Regions from separate parts of the Homo sapiens genome. Here region 1 is linked to region 2. Evidence: promoter capture Hi-C in human tissues and cell types (Jung and others, 2019). All regions are on one chromosome and are shown on one strand. Each heading gives the region's core, a stretch centred on a gene start or on the middle of the fragment in contact. The rest is flanking DNA. Distances are from core to core; before and after follow the strand shown.

Region 1 (3,559 bases), core at 904-3,403, 35 kb before region 2:
GGAGATATGTATCACCTTTATGAATCAGAATAATCAACATAGTAAAGTTGTCAGTGTACCTCAAAATATCTGTAAATGTGATGCAATTTCAATCAAAATTTGACAGTATTTTTTGAGGACATAGAAAAACTAACCTAAAACTTAAATGGAAAGACAAAGCAACTAGAAAATTCCAACTCATTTTGAAAAAAGAATAAAATTGGACGAATCACAATATCCATTAAGGCTTACTATAAAGCTGCAGTAATCAAGAAACTGTGGTATTGATGAAGGTATAGACACATGTATTAATGAAACAGAATACAGTCCAGAAGATCAACACACATATGACCAACTGATTTATGACAAAGGTGCAAAGACATTTCAATGTGGAAAGAATAGTTTTTTACAGCAAATAGTGTTGGAATAATTGGACATGTATATATAAAAAAAGTGAACATTGACCTAACCCTTACCTTAGAGGAGAACTAACACAAAATACATCATAGGTCAAAATTTAGAATGAAAAATTATAAAACTTTTAGAGTACTTTGATATGACGCTAAAAGCATAATCCATAAAAGAAGAAAAGTGATAACTGGATTCCAATAAAATGAACTACTTCTGCTGAACAAAAAGCCCTGTTACAAGAATAAAAAGACAAGCTGCAGATTGGGAGAAATTGTGTGAAATCACTAACAAAGAAGGAGGATTACCTACTAGATATCCAGATTTCACCTACTGCTACAGTGCGAGGCTCAAAGATAGACAAATGGACCAATTGAATAGAAAGAAATACTAGAAACAGAATCACACATATAAGAATAGCTGATGTCTACTACACAAATAGAAAAGGGTAGAGAACCCAAAAATAAAACCACATACCTAAAACCACCTGATCTTTGACATAGTTGACAATAACAAACAATGGGGAAAGGATATGCTATTCAATAAACGGTCAGTGCAGAAGATTAAAATTGGACGCTTTCCTTTCACCACATACAAAAAATTAATGCAAGATGGATTAAAGACTTAAATGTAAGACCCAAACCAATAAAAACCCTAGAAGAAAACCTAGGAAATACTACTCCGGATATCAGCCTTGGGAAAGAATTTATAACAAAGTCCCCAAAAGCAATTGCAACAAAAAACATAATTGACAAATGGGACCTAATTAAACTAAAGAGATTCTGCACAGCAAAATAAACTATCAACAGAATAAACAGACAACCTACAGAATGGGAGAAAATATTTGCAAACAATGTATCTAACAAAGGTCTAATATTCAGTATCTATAAGGAACTTAATTCAAAAAACAAAAAACAAATAACCCCACTAAAAAATGGGCAAAGGACATACACACCTCTCAAAGGAAGACACACATGCGGCCAAGAAATCTATGAAAAAATGCCCATCACCACTAAACATCAGAAAAATACAAATCAGAACCACAGTGAGATACCATCTCACCCGTCAAGATGGCTGTTTTTAAAAAGTCAAAAAACAGATGCTGGCAAGATTACAGAGAAAAGAGAACACTTATATACTCCTGGTGGAAATGTAAATTAGTTCGGCTACTTTGAAAATCAATTTGGAGATTTTTCAAAGAACTTAAAACAGAACTTCCATTTGATCCAGAAAACCCACTACGGGGTATATACCCAAAGAAAATAAATCATTCTACCAAAAAGACACATGGATTCATATGTTCATCGCAGAACTAATTCACAATAGCAAAGACATGGAATCAACCAAGACGTCCATCAACAGTGGACTGGATAAAGAAAATGTGGTACACACACACTGGAGACATACATGCAGCCAACAATCATATGGAAAAAGGTCAACATCACTGATCATTATAGAAATGCAAATCAAAGCCACAATAAGATACTATCTCACATCAATCATAATGGCTATTACTAAAAAGTCAAAAAGTCAGATGCTGGTGAGGTTGTAGAGAAAAAGGAATGCTTATACACTGTTGGTGGGAGTATAAATTAGCTCAACCATTGTGGAAGACAGTGTGGTGATTTCTCAAAGGCCTAAAAGCAGAAATACCATTCAACCCAGCAATCCCATTAATGGGTATTTACCCAAAGGAATATAAATTGTTCAATCATAAAGAAGCATGCGTGATGTTCACTGCAGCAATATTCACAATAGCAAAGACATGGAATCAACCTAAATGTCCATCAATGACAGACTGGATGAAGAAAATGCGGTACATATATACCATGGAATACAATGCAGCCACAAGAAAGAATGAAATCACGTCCTTTGCAGGGACATGGATGGAGCTGGAGGCCATTATCCTTAGCAAACTAACACGGGAACAGAAAACCAAACACTGCATGTTCTTACTTATAAGTGGGAGCTAAATGATGAGAAAACATGGACACACAGAGGGAAACAACACACAGTGGGGCCTATTGGAGAGTGAAGGGTGGGAGGAGGGAAAGGATCAGGAAAAATAACTAATGGGTACTAGGCTTAATACTTGGGTGACAAAATAATCTGTACAACAAACCCCCATGACACAAGTCTACCTATATAACTGTGACAGAAAAATATATTGGGCCCCCCAAATCACTAAGCTTAAAGAAAAACTCAAGCTGGAAACTGTTTAGGGCAAACCTGTCTCCCATTCTATTCAGCTACCCCTGTGCTCACTGAGGTAAATGCATATCTGATGCCTCCTTTGGAAAGGCTAATCAGAAATTTGAAAGAATGCAACTGTTTGTCTCTCACCTATCTGACCTGGAAGCCCCCTCCCTGCTTTGGGTCTTCCTGCCTTTGTCTCAAGTTATCCTGACTTTCCAGACTAAACCAATGTACTTCTTACATATATTGATTGATGTCTCATGTCTCCCTAAAATGTATAAAACCAAGCTGTGCCCCGACTGCCTTGGGCACATGTCAAGACTTCCTGATGCAGTGTAATGGGTGCACATCCTCAACTCTGGCAAAATAAACTTTCTAAATTAACTGAGACCTGACTCAAATTTTGGGGGTTCATATAACAAACCTGCAAATGTACCCCTAAACCTAAAATAAAAGGTAATTTTCAAAAAAAGGAAATGTAGCACATAAGCACCATGGAATACCATGCAGCCATAAAAAAAATTATGTCCTTTGCAGTAATGTGCATTTAGCTGGAGGCCATTATCCTAAGTGATGTAACACAGGAACAGAAAACCAAATATTACATATTCTCACTTATAAGTGGGAGCTAAACACTGAATACATATGGACACAAAGATGGGAACAATAGACACCGGGACTGCTTGATGAGCGCAAGTCAGAGGGAAGTGTGGGTTGGAAGATTATCAGGTACTATGCTCAATACCTGGGTGACAGGATCATTTGTACACTAAGGCTTAATGACATGCAATTTACCCATGTAACATATCTGCTCACATATACCCAGAATCTAAAATAGAAGTAGAAGAAACAAAAAAAGAATATATAATGTATACTGAAGGTAGCATGGCAAAAGGGCAAGGATGGTCATTTCAGTAAAACATGCTGAAACAACTGGATAGCCATATATTTTTTAAATGTCCTCTAAAACAAATCA
Region 2 (3,683 bases), core at 915-3,414:
CTTCTTCCTTACAAATTCCTCTAAGGTCCACATCATCATACTGAGATTTCTTAAACAGGTATTATTGTTCCAGGCATAAGTGCAGGTATCCTGTAAAACTCATTTAATGCTAACATCCCTAGGAAGCAGGTATTATGATTATGCACATTTTACAGATGAAGTAACTAACATCCAGAAAAGTCTGCCAAAGTCACGCAGGTACCTATTAGAACCCAGGCAGTCTAATGCCAGAGTTTGGACTTTAACATCTACACCCCACACCCTGGCAGGTAGACAGAATCTGCCAAATTTAAACGCTGACATGACAAAACAAATTTTGTTTTTCAGGAGAAACAGACAAGTTTCTGTTTTAAAGGAGAAATAATATAACATCATAAACAACTAATTTTAAAAAATAAGAATGGTGCATTTTTACTCTATAAAATAGTTTATTCTAAAAATACCACAAAATTTAGTTCCACATTATAACAAAAAAGAGTAAGTTGAAGTATTATGTGGATAGAAAAGAAATCTGTCTTTCCAAAGAAAGGAAAGCAGGCAGTGATTCATGAAACAGAGGGGCGGGGTGGGTAGGTTCTGAAGTGTAGATAGATGAACCATTGGTGACACACAAGTTAAGGGACCTCAGATTAGAATCTCTTTTTTCTGCCTAATGAAGTGGTTATTAGCCTACTAGTTCAGACCTCCTCGGCTAACGGTTTTCATACTTTTGGTGATTCTACTCAATGGAAAGGTCACAGCAGTCAAAATAAAAACATAAATTCTCCAGTCTTTGGTGAAGGGGATTGGAGCATTACTCTTGCAAATGCAATGCAGTAAAAGAAAGCTACAGGAGTTCTTGAAACAACATTTATAAAATTAAATTTGATGCAGCATTAAAATTACACTTAACAGCAAAGAAAAAAAGGACTAAAATACTAAAGTGTGCATACATACTACACGTATATATTGAAAACAACTCTGAATAGGTTTTTTTGGTTTTTATTGTAGGCATTTAGCCAGAACAAAGCTCACTATTTCACCGGAAAAAAAAACCAGTTACCTCGACTCTAAGGGTACATATGGAAACTAAAATGCATATTAAGATGGCTGATAGAAATTTTAAAAAAAGCTGCTTTAACCAACCAAGGTACTCCTGTCAATCTTAAAAAAGTGTTAAAAAAGTGCATTGTCTATTAATTTAGAACGGCAAGGCTATTTCACAACGCCTTAAGTCTAGTAAAAGTGCTTGTCAATTTAACAGAGAAGTCTATATAACTTGCTCCTAAAGATGCTAAGTGCGCGCGCGTTTATGTGTTGTCCCCGCCCAAGTTAGCGTCTATCCTAGCCTTCAATTAGAGAATATATATATATATATATATATAATATTGACACATATATATATACTCACACACATGTGTATGCGTCAAGGGCCCACCCACAGTTATTGAAAAGGAACTGACTTCACTCTCTAAGGGTCTTTTCTGATTTCTTTTCCAAGAGCCACCCACAGTTATTGAGTGAAAGGGAACTGACTTTATTCTCTAAGGGTCTTTTCTGATTTCTTCTCCAATCGTCAACCTTCCTGAGGAGGGTGGCAGGAAAGATAGCGGAGAAGCAGAACACCGGCCTGGAGCACGCTCCTCCTGAGACCTACCTGCAACACGAAACAGCGCTGCGACACACTGAAGCCCAGGTCCGCGGCCGGGAAGTGGGAGATCTTCACTTCTGCCACCTCCTCGTTAGGGTTGTCTAGGGCCAGAGACAGCGTCCGTGAGGCTCCCAGGAGAACGTCCCCGAAGCAAAGGAAAGGAGACCTGCAGAAGTGGCTGAGAGACAGGACCGGCGGGGAAGACGCCTCCTCCTCGGCCGCGGGGCCCCGCAGCCCCGCGGGCGGCCTCCGCTCGGTCGGGCTCACTTCCCAGCAGCCTCGCCCCACTCGCCGGTTCGCCATGGCAGATTCGAGACCCCTCCTGGATCTCCTTGCCCCGCTCCCACGAGGCGGCTCCGGAGCGGGGATCCGGGACTTACGCTGACCGCTTCCCCTCAGGGGCGGCTGTAGAGGTCGTGGGAGTGAATTCGGCCCTTTTTCTTTTCCACTAACCTACTCCCTAGAAAACAGAAAACAAGCCCAATAAACTCGCAAATTAAAAAGAGGAGCCAAACAAGTATGGCGTTTTGACTCTGTTTAAACTTGCCGCCTCCACCAATGAGGACCTCCGGGCACCGCCCTCCTCGTCACGGGACCAATCGGTGAGCAGCATCCCCTGGCCAATGAGACGGCGGCGCTTCATTTGAATGATTGCATCCGGCCGCCAATCGCTATCTGCGGAGGAGGTGAGAACGGTAGCGGAATCCTGGCCACCGTCTAAAACCCGGGGCTTAGAATTGAAATTCGTCTTTATATTTTTGGTTGTGCTGAAGGGAAGGGAGTCACAGCATTTCCACAATACATGTAGTAATCATTGCGGTTTCCAGGAACAATCATAGATAAAACTGTTACGTAGGCAAAAATTGGTTTATGCCACTCCTCTCATATGCATACCCCGCCCAGAATTATATTAACTTTACTGTCGCGGTTTCCAGGGCTGAATGGTAGAGATGTAAAGATAATTAGTTTGTATGAACATGCTTATTTTAGTGACAACATAGCAGGGACTCAGTACATTTACATGCTGTTAATTACCTCGGGACGCTGGGAGCAAAACCAGGTAAACAAATGAAACCTGAGATTACCAGTAATTCATAAATGATTGTTTTGACTGGCAATGCCCTTCACAAATATCTTATTAGTTTTTATTTCAATTGTAGGGATCTAATAATAATTATAGCTTACATATTAGGGATTTTTTAAATTATTTATTTATTTTGAGATGGAGTCTCGCTCTGTCTCCCAGGCTGGAGTGCAGTGACGTGATCTTGGTTCACTGCAACCTCCGCCTCCCGGGTTCAAGCGATTCTCCTGCCTCAGCCTCCCAAGTAGCTGGAATTAGAGGCGCGCCTCACCACGACTGGCTAATTTTTGTATTTTTGGTAGAGAGGGGAGTTCGCCATGTTGGCCAGGCTGGTCTGGAACTCCTGGCCTCAAGTGATCCGCCTGCCTCCGCCTCGGCCTCCCAAAGTGCTGGGATTACAGGCCTGAGCGGCGCCCGACCCTAGGCTAGGGATTTTTTAAAAATCCTTTACCTATTTATCTCAACCTTTGCCTTAAACCTACGAGGTATCTCTTAGGGCGTAGGTACCATTATTTGTATCTTACAGATGAGGAATACAGGTCATACAGCTAAGTAGGAAGTGGCATAACCCAGATAGGTACACATGCCTGTAATCCCAGCAGTTTGGCCCTAGTCTTGCTCTTACCCACTACACTATATTGCCTCTAAAGGCAGTAGAAAACTTAAAAAATAAAAATAATGTCTGGATGTATGTATGGTTACACAAAACATGTAAAAAGAGAAGTCAATGGGAAATCAAAATAAGGAAGATGAGACATGAAATTATATTCAATGGTGTCCAATTTCACCTGAAGTTGGACCTTAACAATATTTAAACGAAATTTTTCCACTGGGCACGGTGGCTCAAGCCTGTAACCCAGCACTTTGGGAGGCTGAGGCAGGCGGATTCTTGAGGTCAGGGGTTTGAGACCAGCCTGGCCAACATGGCGAAATGCCGTCTCCACTAAAAATAAAAAAATTAGCCAGGCG

Evidence for each region. The method cuts DNA at HindIII sites, captures the fragments that hold promoters and counts their contacts. A contact is called where the count stands out against the background at its distance.
Region 1: a contact is called between a fragment that was not itself captured here and the fragment with the promoter of ASPM in region 2, in 1 of the 25 tissues and cell types used here (thymus).

What each region holds. Positions count from the first base shown.
Region 1 is chr1:197,109,944-197,113,502 of GRCh38, forward strand. The region is part of intron 17 of ASPM (assembly factor for spindle microtubules); the gene reads right to left. Among named protein-coding and RNA genes, the nearest start is that of ASPM, 35 kb to the right of the region's middle. The HindIII fragment of the contact is 5,520 bases long and covers 1-3,559 here.
Region 2 is chr1:197,144,505-197,148,187 of GRCh38, forward strand. It overlaps ASPM (assembly factor for spindle microtubules), which reads right to left and starts at 2,165. Exons shown (of 28, transcript NM_018136.5): 1 at 1,637-2,165. The coding sequence starts at 1,933. RefSeq lists a silencer at 1,670-1,849. The HindIII fragment of the contact is 11,107 bases long and covers 1-3,683 here.